Regions from separate parts of the Homo sapiens genome. Here region 1 is linked to region 2. Evidence: promoter capture Hi-C in human tissues and cell types (Jung and others, 2019). All regions are on one chromosome and are shown on one strand. The core of a region is centred on a gene start or on the middle of the fragment in contact, and the rest is flanking DNA. Distances in the headings are between cores, read along the strand shown.

Region 1 (2,981 bases), core at 439-2,938, 130 kb after region 2:
TTCTTTTATAAACACCTTAAAAGTTTTCGTGACAAAATTATTTTGGTTAGAATTTAATATAAATATGATTTATTCTGTGTTAGGATTCAAAAGCTTATTCAATTTAAATAAAAACCATACTCCAGAAACTAAAACATTTCTTAGTAGATATAACGGAAACTGTTTTTGTTGGTAAATCTATAATAGGAATTGCTTGGCCCAGGTCACTGAAGCATTTTCTGCTTACTTTACTTAGGAACGTTTTTGGGGGTATGTTGAACAGTTTTCATGTTTCATATAAAAACACGTCAGATGTGTTTATATGTTTTTGAAAAATGTAAAACAAGGCTTGAAACGTTCCATTGTATGCGTCTGTAGGATACACATTTTGACATATTTTTAAAAGGATGTTGGTTCCCAAATCTCATAGGCATATATAAATAAAACAGAATTTAAAAGGTATTACCTTGTTCAAAATCTGTATGAGCAGATCAATCAGATTATAACACATACAATTATAAAATATGGCATGAGAAGAATACAAGAAAATAAAGTATAATACTCTGCAACTAAAAGTATAATATTCTGGAAGTTTACGCCTTTAGGTATTAAATGTTTTATATGTGATAACTGAAATAATACATTAATTTTCTATGAAGAAAAACATTGTGTTAGAAAAAAACCAGCTAGACCAAATAATGCTTTAGAATTAATTCTACAAATTTACTGACAGGAGAGAAACCCTGAGGTTTTATTTTTACCTTGTTTTCTCATTAGACAGTAGAGAACACCAAGTAAAGCTTGACTTTGACATTAAAGCATTATTTTCCGTTTTAGGCTGAGTGGTTTACTTTGCATCAGGTAAACTAAACTGTCTGCCACGTTTTCTTTGTAGCTAGAGTTAGAAGTTGGTAATTCCTAAGCCAAGTTCTCAGCTTTGGAAAACGTGCTCAAAATGCCTGGAAACTGAGGAGTGAGCATTAGGAAGACTTCCCCTGTCTGGGCTGATAGGAGCGGCTCCAGTTTGGCCAACGCAGGTCGTGCCCCGCGAACAGCGCGCTGCTGAACTTTTCATCCGGACGAGAAAAACGCTCAGATGCGCGCCAGCTCCAGGGAATGCCGGGGGGTGCCAGTCCCTCGCCTCTCCCACCCGGGACCCATCATTTGTTACGGAAGGGCGATGGGGTGTGTTTTATTTCTGTTATCACATATAAAACATTTAAAACCTAAAGGGGAGGAGGCACTCGAGCCTGGCAGCCTCGCCTTCCCTGAGCCCAGTGGCTCTCCTCGGAAAGTCGCTGCGGACCCAGAGGATGGGACACCTTTAGAGCGGACTTTGTCAAATCTCTGAGCCGCTCCGCAGCCACTTGACGGAGTTGCCGCCGCCCCCGGAGCTGGGCGCCGAAGCCCGGGAGCCAGCAGCGCCCCGTCCGCCCGCCCTCGCGCGCTTTCTGGCCGCCCTCGGCCCCGGGGCATCCACTGCGTCCCCCCGGACGCCGCCGGAGTCCCCACCTCGCAGCAAAAGCAAGAATGCCGACACCTACCCTGGTGATGACCAAAGGCTGGTTGAAGTCTATGCCCCCTGAGAGCCTGAAGCCCCAGGGCGCAGGGCCCGGGAGGATCACCGTCTGGGGCATGCCGCCTTCCTCCCGCCCACCGGGCTCTAAGTGTCCCCGCGCAGGGCAGCCACTCCGCGCCGGGCGGCGTCCTGGCCCCGACCCGGGCGGGGGCGCTTTATCCCCGCTGGGGGTGACGTCACCGCCCCGCCGTCCTCCCCGCCCCCTCCCACCCCGGAGAGCTCCAACTTTGGAAGCGAGAGCCGCGCCAGCCCCGCGGGAGTGCGCAGCCCGGCCGGCTGGGGCAGCCTCCCGGGCCGCGGCGGGCGCGGGGGCTTCGGGTTACAGCGTCCGTCGCTCTCTTGAAGTCACACCTGTCTCCCTGTTTATCTTCTGCTTGGAGCGCAGCAGTGCACTTTGTTGGAAGCGAAAGCAGCCAGACCACAGCCTCCATGCTTTCAATTAAAACGAGCATCATCGATACAATAAGTTATTTAGCAGTTTCGAGTGCGTTAATATTTACTTACGACCTCTGCGGCTTTGGCCAAATTACTTAATGTCCTTTTAAATTTTTATTTTATTTATTTATTTTTCTTAGAGACCGGGTCTCCACTTTGTTGCCCAGGCTAGTCTTGAACTCCTGGGCTCAAACAATCTTCCCACCTCAGCCTCCCAAAGTGCAGGAGAGTCTGGCCGGGGTCCTGTGGTAGTCTCAGTGTGGACTCAAGTATTTCTGGTGTTACGCGTTGGGATGTTGTGATTCCCAAAGGGAGAGGGGAGAATGAGGGAAGAGAAATAAGAAATGCTTTAAACACTCAAGAATAAGGGTCTTGGACTTAATGCCCCATATGATAGGGTCGTATTGGTCCAGGAGGACAGAGCTGCAGCAGACTTTTAAGAGGGCAGTCTGTTTGGAAGCAGTTTTAAGACTGATGGAGGAAAGAGAAAGGAGATGCAGAAAGCAGTAAGCAGTAAGCAGTAAGCAAAGCGAACCAGCCTGGGCAAATGTAAATCACAAAGGTAGGATGGGCATTACTTTGTCCGCTGTGGTGGATTACATAAAAGTCCCAGGGGATAAGCACTTTCTAGCTCCACACATTTCCCAGTGCCCCATCTATGCTGGACCATCGAGGAGCTGAACATTGTGTGTCCTGCTGACTGCCTGTTTGGGCTGTGGCTGTATCACTGCAGAGCACATTTCTTCAGTCAGCTGCTGGCTCTGTCTGCGTGGTGCAGACATACACGTGCACACACACAGAGGTCCATTCAGAAAAAAAAAATCAGACAAGTCATTTGGTGTTGTGTAATTATAGTAATTGTTTTTACCTTACTTCACGAGCTGGCTTATATAAACAGCTGATTTTTTCTTTGCCTTTTTGCTGGTCATTTTGGCATCATTTAGATGTAGCCAATATCTATACAATATCCACATAATATCTGATGAGT
Region 2 (2,931 bases), core at 328-2,827:
TTCTATAGTTCCCATTGACTACCTTTGGGTACTCATACACTGTATTAAACATCAGATAATTCTAACATTCATTCAGAACTGGAATGCCCGCTCTATGCTGGATTCTGTTAGTTGCTGAGGATACAATAGTGACCAAAAATGCAATTTCCTTATGCATCCTTTACCTCTTCTGTTCTGCAACCAACATTTGTATGAGCCCAAAATTCCCTTGTAAGATATAAAAAAAAAGACTTAAGTTCAATGTTTCATTTCACTCCGTTTTTATCCTGTTTTCAGTTTATGTAATAAGAACGGGCAAACAGCTGAAGATCTCGCTTGGTCATGTGGATTTCCAGACTGTGCCAAGTTTCTTACAACAATTAAATGTATGCAGACAATAAAAGCAAGTGAACACCCTGACAGGAATGATTGTGTTGCCGTGCTCAGACAGAAACGGAGTCTCGGAAGTGTAGAAAATACCAGTGGGAAAAGGAAGTGCTGGTAAGTAACTCAGAGCTGCTGCTTTTTTCCTCCCGCAGTGATCTCTTGTTTGCATAGCATTTATTATTCCATTTAATACTGACACTCGTATTTCTAGTAGTATTGTTTCATTCTCATTAACATTTTAGTACTGGTTATACTTACCAGAGTCTAGAGACCAAAAATGGGACTGCATGGTGGAAGTTTGGGGATAAAACTCTTTTTAAAAAAAAGTTTTTAATGTTAACGTGTTTTTAAAAACAGATGTCACGTGGGTTATGAAGAAGTCTGAAGAACGCCTTCATTTCATGCAAATCTATAAGCTCCTGCTTTTGGCTTTACCATATGTTGTGTCTAATCTCCTTCTGAGAAGGACGAAAAACTTTCTTCCAAGTGAAGATCCATTTAAGAACACATGTATTTACATGCCTATAATATGCTGGTTGTGTATGCTTTGTCTTTTAAGTTATTAAAGGAACGTCTAAAAAATACATTCTCCGTGCAGTATTTACAACCTTTGAAAAAGGTCATAATTTAAATCGTCAAACTAGAACCAGGATTTAATGTGAAAAATTAAACTGATTCTTTATTCACAAATTTATAATACCACTCTACTGCAGTCTTTGACTCCAAGATATTTTAAATCATATTTGGTCGCTGAGGAAGACATAAGTTATAGTATGCATCCTTGTTCCAAAAATCTGGGCCCTTCCATCCGCACCAGCCCTGGATAGAGAAGACGGGAAAGGAAAGCCTTTTACAAAGTTACAAGATTATGTCATGGAAATCGTGACATCAGGCTCTGTCAGCAGGACCTTGGAATAAGACTCTAAATGGCTTTATCATTCAAGGATTTGAATTCCTACTAGCATAGAAAAGTAACGTATCTTACCCTTTAAGGTAGGTTTTTGAACTTTTAATTCTATGTATGTAATTCATCATAAAAATCATTAAAAAAAATTTACCTGTAACTGTTATTCCAGATACCACACTTTACTGATTCTGAGATGTATAGTTTTACCACTTGCAACTGATAGCATGTGACAATTGAACTAGCAATCTGTTTTTCTTAATAGTCCATAAAGGACTGTAAGAGACCATTCAGTGGCATCTTAGGATTGAAGTACTGTAGTGAGAAACCTCAGCTTGCCCCCTGCCTGGCACTCTGTGCCCTTTCATTTTCAAATTCCAGGTGTTACTCAATTCTACTTCCCATGTTTCATGTCAGTATTAATCCTTTTTGCCAGCAGAGAAAATTACTTTCAAGCAAAATCTCATTTAGAGTATGAAAATTTCTCAGATTTCTCCTAGGGCCACTGAGTTATTTTATTAAAGAAGAAAACTTAAAAGCCAATAACTGGTCTGTATTATATGATTCTTAAATGCTTTGAGAAATCCTTGCAAGGAGGCTGAGACTCTGAAAATACCATGAAGTGAGTGACAAGCAGCGGTCTGACTCCCTCCTAATAAGATACACGTTGTCAAAAAACAAGATAAAAGTAAAAAATCCTCTACCAGTCCTAGGTAATCCCCCACTCTCCCTAGGTAACCAGCATTCTATTAATCATCTCATTTTTTCAGCAAAACTTTCTCTATTAATTTAATGTCCTAAAATCTGTTCTCTTAACAGACAGAGAAAAAAGGCTCATTCTGTTTTAACCTTTTTTTGATCCTTTTACACATGAAGGCCTTGTCCAGGTAACCAGATCCAGATTTTTTAAAGGAGAAATTGGTAGAGAGGGTGTCAGAATGGGATTGCATAGGGACATAGTGCATAGGACATGCTTCTTTCCTGTGAGATGACCAGCATGGGAACTTCAAACAGGAAAGCACCACAAGAAGGCAAAGAGGTCAGGCAGAGATGGAACTCTCCTCTGGCCTCCTGGGTTCCTGGAGTCAAGTGAATCAATAGTTTTAATGGCAGGACCTTGGCTGCACAGTTTCTTGTGTATACAAATAGAGCAAGGAGGTTTCTGCTGTTGAAAAGTTCTATAGAAATAGAACTAGCAAAGATGGAGATTGCAATTCTCAGAGAAAGAAATCAGGGACAATCCCTTACTCTAATTGTTCAGAAACCTTACCTAGATAATGCCATGTAGTGCAGAGCCCCTTGAGTCAACCAGAAAAGAGAAATTTGATGATGAAAATAATTAAGGCTTCTCCCTGCCTTTAAGAAAAAATCGAAATGCCTGGTTCACAAAGACCACCCTTTCTGACTGAGCTTGGTGTGTCCTTCCAGCCTCACCTCTTCGCCTAGCTCTGGACGCACTGATCTACCTGCAGTGCGGCTTTCACTGTTTCTACAAGGCAGGGGCCACCACAGCACCAGCCTCGTAGAAGCACCTGAGATACCATTTTTTTTTTCTCGAGAGTCCTTTTTGCACTCTCCTTCTCTGTCCTACCCTAAAGGTTTTAGCTCCCGAAAAACCTCGTGTAATACTAGTGCTTAGGACAGTGCCTGGCACTTGTTAG

The links. The method cuts DNA at HindIII sites, captures the fragments that hold promoters and counts their contacts. A contact is called where the count stands out against the background at its distance.
Region 1: the fragment with the promoter of PDLIM3 here is called in contact with a fragment that was not itself captured in region 2 in 2 of the 25 tissues and cell types used here (liver and pancreas).

Annotation. Positions count from the first base shown.
Region 1 is chr4:185,533,819-185,536,799 of GRCh38, forward strand. It overlaps PDLIM3 (PDZ and LIM domain 3), which reads right to left and starts at 1,689. Exons shown (of 8, transcript NM_014476.6): 1 at 1,524-1,689. The coding sequence starts at 1,616. The HindIII fragment of the contact is 14,334 bases long and covers 437-2,981 here.
Region 2 is chr4:185,399,294-185,402,224 of GRCh38, forward strand. It overlaps ANKRD37 (ankyrin repeat domain 37), which reads left to right. Exons shown (of 5, transcript NM_181726.4): 4 at 277-480; 5 at 724-948. The coding sequence ends at 724. It overlaps UFSP2 (UFM1 specific peptidase 2), which reads right to left. Exons shown (of 12, transcript NM_018359.5): 12 at 244-1,185. The coding sequence ends at 1,099. Among named protein-coding and RNA genes, the nearest start is that of ANKRD37, 3.9 kb to the left of the region's middle. The HindIII fragment of the contact is 6,421 bases long and covers 1-2,931 here.